Linked DNA regions of Homo sapiens: regions 2 and 3 are each linked to region 1. Evidence: promoter capture Hi-C in human tissues and cell types (Jung and others, 2019). All regions are on one chromosome and are shown on one strand. Each heading gives the region's core, a stretch centred on a gene start or on the middle of the fragment in contact. The rest is flanking DNA. Distances are from core to core; before and after follow the strand shown. Region 1 holds the start of DLGAP5 (DLG associated protein 5). Region 2 overlaps KTN1 (kinectin 1). Region 3 overlaps KTN1 (kinectin 1).

Region 1 (3,305 bases), core at 624-3,123:
ATTTGGTAGAGATGGGGTCTTGCTATGTTGCCAGTGCTGGACTTGAACTCCTGGCCTCAACTGATTCTCCCATCTTGGCCTCCCAAAGTGCTGAAATTACAGGTATGAGCCACCATTCTCAGTCTCTTTTTTTTTTTTTTTTTTTTTGAGATGGAGTCTCACTCTGTCACCCAGGCCAGAGTGGAGTGGTGCGATCTCAGCTCACTGCAACCTCCACCTCCTGGATTCAAGCGATTCTCCTGCCTCAGCCTCCTGAGTAGCTGGGACTACAGGCGCGCACCACCACACCCGGCTAATTTTTGTATTTTTAGCAGAGACGGCATTTCACCATATTGGCCAGGGTGATCTTGATCTCTTGACCTCGTGATCCCCCCGCCTTGACCTCCCAAAGTGCTGGGATTACAAGCGCAAGCCACAGTGCCTGGCCAGAAGGGTGAACATTAGAGACTGACAACCCCACGTGCTGGAAAGCATGTGAAACAAGTGGAACTCTTATATGTGGCTGGTGGGAATTGTAAAATGGTACAACCACTTTGGAAAACTGCTTGGCAATTCCTTACAAAGTTAGACATGGGTGACGGCACCCGCCTATAGTCCCAGCTATTCAAGAGGCCAAGGCTGCAATGAGCTATGATTGTGCCACTGCTCTCTAGCCTGGGGGACGGAGAGACCCTGCTTCTAAAAAAAAAAAAAAATTTTAAGTTAAACATACCCAGAATGACCCAGAAATTCCACTCCTGTATTTCCTCAAGATAAATAAAATATGCCCACAAGGACTTGTACGAGAATGGTTATAGCAACTTTGCTCATCATCACCAAAAATTGAAAGCAATACAAATCCATCAACTGGTGAATGCATAAAGTATTCAATGGAATGCCTCTCAATAACAAACACTACTAACTTCTGGTTCACGCAGACCCAAAAGAGTACCTATCACCTTCATTTTTATAGTGCTAGAAATAAGAGGAGTGGTTGCTGATGTGGTGGGAGATGGACAGGAAAGAAACAGGCCACTCTTCTGAGTGATGGAAATGCTCTACGTCCTGATTGGGTGGTAGTTACACAGCTGTTTACATTTACCAAACTCATCAAATTGTCCACTGGGGGGGAAAAACTATTATTTTCACTGTATACGAAAACTTCGCCTCAACAAAAAATGAACTAAAAAAGAAAAAAAAGGGGAGGGGGGCTGGCGACGTTGAAAAGTAACGCTAAACTATGTAAGGATTTGATAATTGGGGTAAGCCTTTTCTTTAAAACGTCTAGTAAAGAAAACATTCCAAGAAGGTCTGCTAGATTCTGTGACTAAACAAGGACATTAAAAAGCCCTGAATCCAGCTTGGTCAACGTAGTGAGGCCCTGTCTCTACGGAATTTTTTTAAAGTTAGCCAGGCGTAGTGGTGCGCGCCTATAGTCCCAGCTACTCGGGAGGCTGAGGTGGGAGGATGGTTTGAACACAGCAGCTCAAGGCTGCAGTGAGCAGTGGTCGGTGCCCACTATACTCCAGCCTAAGGGACAGAGACCTTGTCTCAAAAAAAAGAAAAAAGAAAAAAAAAAAAAGCCTTGCGAGCTCTGGGGGAGATTTCCCGCAGCCCAGCTTTGCCAGGGACCCAGCCTCACCCCTCGGGCTCCACCGCCCACTCCCGCCCTTCACCTGACGTGAGCGCCCCGACTGCTCCACTCCTTCTCATCCCGCGTCGCGGTCCCGCCTATTTTCCCTCTCTCACCCATCTTTTGAACTGGCCCTTCACCTTTCAATCAATTCAAATATCGCACGGAGCAAACCAATCGCAAGCCTCGTTGAGTGGAAGGGGTGGGATCTTCCCCGGAAGTGTTGGTTAAAGCCCCTCCAATCAGCGGCTCGGTGCGGCAAGTTTGAATTTCGTGGAGGCTCGGGTTGTGAGGGTTCCTGCTTCGGAGTCGGCGGTGGTCGTCCAGACCGAGTGTTCTTTACTTTTTGTTTGGTTGAGGTTTCACGCTAGAAGGTGGCTCAGGTAGGTGGGTGCTGGAGAGCTGGACGGAGAACACTGGCCCGCTTCCGTTGAAGGTCTAGAAGGGTCTGAGGACCGGGGGCTGCGAGCGGGAGCAAGTCAGAGGCAGGCTCCTTTAGGACCGTGTTACCTGCCCTTCCCGAAGCTGATAATGCGAGCCTTTAGAAGAGTCCATATGTTTGCCCTGACCTCTGTAATAGTCAGCGTTTCACCACCGGGGCGTAATTGACCTTTGGGGTGAAACTGTTCTTCACTAGCTCCGACATTAAATTCCCGTAGCTCTTCCCAGGTCCCATGGCAACTAAAAACGCCCGGTTGAGAACCTCTAGTCAAGCAAGATTAACGCATTCTGGACTTTCAAGCTGGAGGAAACGCCACTCAGCCAAACAAAATTTAGGTGTGTGTGGAGCCAGGGCTGCCTTGCTTGGGATCCCAGCTTCACCACCTTTTAGATATGCTAATGTGAGCAGTTAATTGACCTCATCTGTATGAGAGCGATAATAGTTAACTACCTTTCAGGGTTATTCTGATAATTGTACCTTTAATGTTGTCCTCGCTCGCTCTTTCTCTTGCTGTGGATAGTGCTATCCTGTATTTAATACATAAGTCTTAATTTTTCTTCAATCTTTAGCGAATTAATATTGCAGGAGATAAATAGTAGAAGACAGTTCTTTATGAAAAGCACAGTCCATTGTCACTTTCCTTGGGTCTTAGAGGAGAATGTTATTAGCATGCAGGTCAGACAGATTCTCGTTTTTTATATTTTGTTGATTGCTTAGAATCATGTAACAATGTATTGCATTACTTGTGCCAATTTTTCTATTATCTGGAGTTTTCTAGTGGATTTAGTTAATTCTTGTTGAAGAATATACCATAGTGTGTCTATCACAGAGCCTCCCCCTTACCTTTTTTTGTTTTTGTTTTTTAACTGCCAAGACTTCTGAGAATCAGTATCCTTTCTCCAGTTTGGCTTGGTAGTTCTCTATACCAGCTACACAGGTGACCCCCTCAAACTTTCTAATTTTCTTTGTTCTCCCTAGTTGGATCTACTGACGTCGTCTTTATTGTCCTCTTTTGTTTTGCTTGAATACATTCTCAAAGATCTTTCCAAGAAAAAGGCATGTGCCAATTAAACTATATGATTTTGTGCGTGTGTGTGTGTGTGTGTGTGTGTGTATGGCTTTTCTTTTTTAAAATTTATAGAGACGGGGTCGTGTTATGTTGCCCAGGCTGGTCTCAAACTCCTGGGCTCAAGCAGTCCTGCCTCGACCTCCCAAAGTGGTAGGATTACAGGCCTAAGCCACCGTGCCGGC
Region 2 (2,962 bases), core at 319-2,818, 470 kb before region 1:
CCACTTCAGCCTCCCGAGTAGCTGGGACCACAGGTGCATGCCATCACACCCGGAATTTCTAAACTTTTCGTAGAGACGAGGTCTGACTATGTTGCCCAGGCTGATCTCAAACCCCTGAGCTCAGTGATCCTCCCGTCTCAGTCTCCCCAGCTGCTGGGATTACAGGCGTGAGCTACCACATCTATCCTAAAATTTCTTTAAAAAATGAAGCTAAGACAAAATTTGCATCATTCAATTACACAATCACATCTAGAAGAAAGAAGACCCAGTAAGATAACTGACATAATAGAAGGTGATTTAGAAAACCCTGCAAAGTATAGTTTAACTTGATTTGATGTTTTCTGAATGCCTAAAAAAACAAAAACAAACATCTCCCTCAACAAAATATTCAAATCCAAATACCATAAAAAAAGCATCTTAGCCAAAGGTACTACTCAACTCTAAACTGCAATTCAAGATATCCAAATAGAACTGTAAAAATCAGGTGCCATTTGCAGTTACACTAAATTGCTTATTTGAGAATGGTTTACCACATAAAAATAGTTACGACTTTATAAACTGTGACTCAAACTTATTACTTACACTTTTAATAATTCTTCATGAGGGGGAAAAGAAGATGCCTATCAAAAGAGTTAAATGTTATTTCAGAACAAAACTTTTCAGGAGACTTAAAAACATTGAAGCTTTTCTCAAATATAAATTAAGAAAACAACAAAAGTAAAAATAGTATATATTTCATATGCCAGTAACCCTGACTTTAATCAAGTGATTTTAATAAAAACATGTACAAATCTGTAAAATGTATGGAATGCTAAATCCAATCTCTACTGTCGCAACGTACTTGAACTCTTCATTTAATAAGTATTTATCAATTTCCCACTATGTGCATGGAAGCACACCTTACATTTTCAAACTGCACAATTCAAATTTGACTACATAAAACTGTTAAGCTTCCAAGTTAAAAAAAAAAAAAAAAAACAGAAATCAAAAGCAAAACTAGGACAAGTTATGTTTCCTCACGTTTAACAAAGTTATTTATACATCAACATGCAAAGGTACACAGCCCTTCATATATGGTATTTATTCCTTGGTGACAATAATCTCTCAAGCTTCTTGTTTGCAAGGACTCCAATTCATTTGTTTCTCAAAATACTATCAAGTCTATCCATATACATGCATAAATTAATTTACAGGCTATTTTGGGTAGCATCTTTTATAAAAACACACTTTTGATTTACCAAGCAGAATTATAACTTGAAAACCTCTTTTAAATAGTAGTAGACTATTGCTTATGATACATTTGTTAGTTTCTCTCCAGTTACTAATGTTTCATTTGGGAAGAGGGGAGATAAGAGTGTGTACACATATCTTTAACCCAACCTCTACAGTATTTAAACTGACTTGCTAAGAATTCTAGGATCAGAAAACACACATGAATACAAAACAGAGCTGGAATACCGGCAATAATATTATTTGTGTATACTTTATAGATTTGTTTTACTTTGGATATGACATAGCAAGTTGCTTTCTTTTATATAAAATTTGATAAACATAAATAAAACATACTTCATTCTCAATGAAAATGCAGAAATGGCAAAAATACTCATATGTCACTGGTTATATAATTTTTTTGCCACGTAAGTGAAAGGCAAGACATCTAATAATACCTACCTGTTGGTAGTTTTGTTGTTTAAGCTGCTCAATTTGGGACTTAAACAATTTGTTTTCATCTTGTACATCCTAATTAAATAAAAATTAAACATCAGTATCTAAACAGATTTTTTCCACATAAACTTAGATCATACAAGCTAGAAACAGATCATACAAGCTAGAAAAATTCCAAAATAGCAATAATTTTAAAGGGTGTAATAAGCTCTTTATTAAAACATATGATGAAATTAGAGTATTTATATTAGTACTAGCTGCGGAGTTTGCATGTCTCAATGGAACAAAATAGAATCCAGAAATATACCGAAATAGCTCTAAGAATTTAGTATGAAGTGACATTTCAAATCAACCTCAACTCTAGTAACATTTTGGGTTTCATATTTTTCTTTGTTGTGGGGGTTTTATCCTATGCACTGCTGGACATTTAGAAGCATCCATGGCACCCATCCACTAGATGCCCCAGCCCGCCTGCCCCAGCTGTGACAACCAAAAATGTCTTCAGATATTGACAAATGTCCCCCTGGGGAACGGAATTACTACTGTTATGATGGATTATTTAATAATGTGGCTAGCCTTCTCTTTTTAATGGTTACAATGTTATTGTTACAGCTTACTGAAATAAGTTACACTAAATAAGCTAAACAAACAAACAAACAAAAAGAATTATAAACACATTAGAAGAAAATGTAATTTTTTTTTTTTAAAGATGGCAGTCTTGCTGTGTTACCCAGGCTGGAGTGCAGTGGTGTGATCTTAACTCACTGCAGCCTCTGCCTCCCGGGTTCAAGTGATTCTCCTGTCTCAGCTTCCCGAGTATCTGGGACTACAGGCACCTGCCACCATGCCCGGCTAATTTTTGTATTTTTTTAGTAGAGTCGGGGTTTCACCACGTTGGCCATGTTTGGTCTCGAACCCCTGACCTCAAGAGATCCACCTGTCTCAGCCTCCCAAAGTGCTGGGATTACTACTGTGAACTACCACACCCAGCCGAATACATTTTTATGATCGTAGAGAGATACCTTTCTTCCAGAGACTTAAAACTCTAGAAATTACTTATATTTGAGTACATAAAAGTTTCAAATTTCCCAAAAAGGGGAAAAACACAAATGAAGTCAGAAGAAAAAATGGGGAAAATAAATCACCTCATATAATAACAAAAGGTTATTTAATTTCCCTTATTACATAAAAAGGATCTTACAAATTAGTAAAAAAAAAAAAAACGTCAACTCAGTGGAAAAAGTGTGGGAAAAATTAAAGGACAATTCATATAAAAATGGCTTGAACATACGAAAAA
Region 3 (3,275 bases), core at 359-2,858, 490 kb before region 1:
CATGCAGTTCACAATAGGGTTTGCACTCCTATGAGAATCTAATGCTGCCACTGATCTGACAGGAGGCAGAGCTCAGGCGGCAATGGTCATTCACCCACCACTCATCTCCTGCTGTGTGGCCTGGTTCCTAAAAAGCCATTGACTGGTACCTGTCCACAGTCCAGGAATTGGGGACCCCCGCTCCATACCTCTCAACACAACCCTTAAAATTAACATACCTCAATAAGCAAAAATGAGATCAAACATCAATGAAAACACTACATTTTAGGGACAGGATATTTTCAAGAAAGATGACTTTCGGAGATGGACCTTATACATTTTTGTTCTTTACACAGGTCACAAGGTAACTAGCTCAGAGATCTGGGGATGAAGAAAATACATACCGTTTCTGGGGAAACATCACTATTTTCAATAACAGTAGTGTCTCCAGCAGCTTTTACTATTTTTGACTGGATAAGCTCCAGTGACTGTTGAGCCTATAAGGAAAACAATATGGTAGCTACTAAGTAATACAGTTGATAAATACATAAAAAATGAATAATTTTATTCATTTTGTAGAAGATAAAAGCTCCTCTCAAAAGACGACACAGGTTTTTCCCTCCAAAATGAAAATAGCTTCACCCCCCACCAGATTATAAGAACATATGTTCACTGTTTTTAAAAGCTTAAGTAATGCAGAAACTATACAAAGAAATTTAAAAACAGAAATAACCATAGTTGATATTTAGGTTAGTATTAGTCTAGATTACAGGTTAGTCAAATCTGGCCCAAAGCCTGTTTTTGTACAGAATACAAGCTAAGAATATTTTTTACTTTTTAAAGGGCCATGTTGCTGGGCGCGGTGGCTCACGCCTGTAATCCTAGCACTTTGGGAGGCCAAGGCGGGCGGATCACCTGAGGTCGGGAGTTCGAGACCAGCCTGACCAACATGGAGAAACCCCATCTCTACTAAAAATACAAAATTAGCCAGGTGTGGTGGCACATGCCTGTAATCCCAGCTACTAGGGAGGCTGAGGAAGGAGAATCAACTGAACCTGGGAGGCGGAGGTTGCAGTGAGCCAAGATGGTGCCATTGCACTCCAGCCTGGGCAATAAGAGCAAAACTCCATCTCAAAAAATATATAATAAAATAAAGGGTTATGTTAAAAAGGAGACAAAAATATTCTAAAGAGATCATATGTGACCCACAAACCCTAAAAAAGCTTTGGGATTTGTCCACCCCTAGTTTAGATCCCTCTCTACATATTATGTGCTTATAGAAAATATTACATAAGTGAGCTTTAACATACATACTGCTTTATACTTACCTATTTTACAAAGTATGTTATTAACTTTTTTTTTTTTTTTTTTTTTTAGACAGTCTTTCTCTGTCACCCAGGCTAGAGTGCAGTAGCGTAATCTCGGCTCACTGCAACCTCTGCCTCCCGGATTCAAGCAATTCTTCTGCCTCAGCCTCCTGAGTAGCTGAGACTGCAGGTGCGCACCACCACACCCGGCTAATTTTTGTATTTTTAGTAGAGACGGGGGTTTCACCATGTTGGCCAGGCTGGTCTTGAACTCCTGACCTCAGGTGATCCGCCCACCTTGGCCTCCCAAAGTACTGGGATTACAGGCGTGAGCCACCATGCCCAGCCGTTATAAACTTTTTTTAGTCAAATATTTATGTGCTTTTCCAATCAAATGTTGCACAATATTTCTACTGTATAGGTATGGGGCAGTTAACTGTCACCTATCATTGCCATCTTAGCTACTGTAAATAAGATGGTATATCTATTATATAACTTTGAGCACCAGTTTGGTATTTTTAAAGTACTTTCTAAGAAACTACATTGCTAGGCTAAATTCCATGTTTATATTTTGATCCAGAGGTCAAAAATTAAAATCACGTATCAAAGTAAACTGACTGCTCAACCACAACAGTGTATTAAGCATCAAAGTTTGTCCTCTAAAACAGACCCAAATTCACATTCTGTCTACACTAAAATAACCTGACAACACTTGTGGATTCCTAGACTTTTACATAACAATTATAAACTATAAGCATATAGAATCAAAAAAAAATTTCTTTCAACTCTTTAAAAGGAGTATTATTTTTTAAAATGAGATAACTTTTAAAATCTATTAGAATATCAAATATTTAAATGTTAGACAGTATCTAATATTGGTGAGGGTATAGGGAAATACATGTTCTCATACCATGTTGAGAGGAGTATAAATTACTACTGTTGGGTTTCTGGGATTCCATTTTATACTATCAAAATTTAAGTGCGTACCTCTTGTTCTTGCAATTCCAAAAAGTGACACTTGTTTTGCTAATGATGATATATCCATAAACACTATCATAGCTCTAAAACAGCTTTGATATAAGAATATGTGAATTCTACTATTAAAAATAGATCTCAAAACAGAATTACAAATAACCTGTCAAACCAATGCAAAGAAATGCAGTCCTAAAAATCATTCATTTGCATTGAGATTAGGAAAAATATATTTGTATGAAGAAATAAATGAAGGAAAAACATCTAAAAAAAATAGAAATTTATATCTTTGTTTTATCCAAAAGACCAAGAGAAACATACTTTGTAAATGAATACACAGCCAAATCCCAATTTTAAAAAATATATGGATGCAGCCAAATTTTAATAACTCCAACTAAATTTTACTCTGTACTTTATAAAGCAATTAATTATAGAAATGTGAGGAAATAATGAGGTGAATTAAGAATCCTGGAAAAACAAGCCAAAACGTTTCATTCCAAAATACTAACTAATAACAAGCAGCTTAAATTTATAAAAGGTTAATATTATGATGCAAAACAACAAATCCAGAATTAGCAGCATAAGTTTGCTTAAGATTGAACACACAACACAGGCTCATGATACTACATCTCTAGGACGAACAGTGCCTACCTTATGCAAATCACCAGCTACCTTCTGTCTTTCATTTTGTTCAGTTCTAAGTTTTGTGAGTGTTTCATTTAACTGTGCCTTCAACTGTAAAAATAAAGGAACACCACAATTAACTTAATTTGCATCATTCTTTGATTATGCTGATACCTCTAGGACTGAAGAATGAATGGGACTGCTAACAGTTATTATGTACAGTGGATTAGCCAATATGCTGCACCAGATGTATAGAAAGGCTAAGCAGTAGAGGTTCCCATCTGTAAAGCTAAACATAAGAAAAGCCACAGAAATGAACTACAGTTTAGAGTAGAAAACTGCAAATGCAAAAACAAAACCATCAAATTCCAGTAAAGTACCTTTTAAAGATAT

What was found. Contacts are between HindIII fragments. The study calls those that stand out against the background at their distance.
Region 2: a contact is called between a fragment that was not itself captured here and the fragment with the promoter of DLGAP5 in region 1, in 1 of the 25 tissues and cell types used here (lymphoblastoid cells).
Region 3: a contact is called between a fragment that was not itself captured here and the fragment with the promoter of DLGAP5 in region 1, in 1 of the 25 tissues and cell types used here (psoas muscle).

Annotation. Positions count from the first base shown.
Region 1 is chr14:55,190,153-55,193,457 of GRCh38, reverse strand. It overlaps DLGAP5 (DLG associated protein 5), which reads left to right and starts at 1,873. Exons shown (of 19, transcript NM_014750.5): 1 at 1,873-1,995. LOC105370508 (a long non-coding RNA gene) reads right to left here and starts at 1,785. Exons shown (of 2, transcript XR_943888.3): 1 at 1,656-1,785. RefSeq lists enhancers at 1,577-2,129, 2,130-2,683. The HindIII fragment of the contact is 18,393 bases long and covers 1-3,305 here.
Region 2 is chr14:55,657,324-55,660,285 of GRCh38, reverse strand. KTN1 (kinectin 1) reads right to left here. Exons shown (of 44, transcript NM_001079521.2): 30 at 1,672-1,740; 31 at 583-620. Among named protein-coding and RNA genes, the nearest start is that of KTN1, 79 kb to the right of the region's middle. The HindIII fragment of the contact is 3,805 bases long and covers 1-2,962 here.
Region 3 is chr14:55,675,553-55,678,827 of GRCh38, reverse strand. It overlaps KTN1 (kinectin 1), which reads right to left. Exons shown (of 44, transcript NM_001079521.2): 41 at 2,910-2,993; 42 at 384-476. Among named protein-coding and RNA genes, the nearest start is that of KTN1, 97 kb to the right of the region's middle. The HindIII fragment of the contact is 3,550 bases long and covers 1-3,275 here.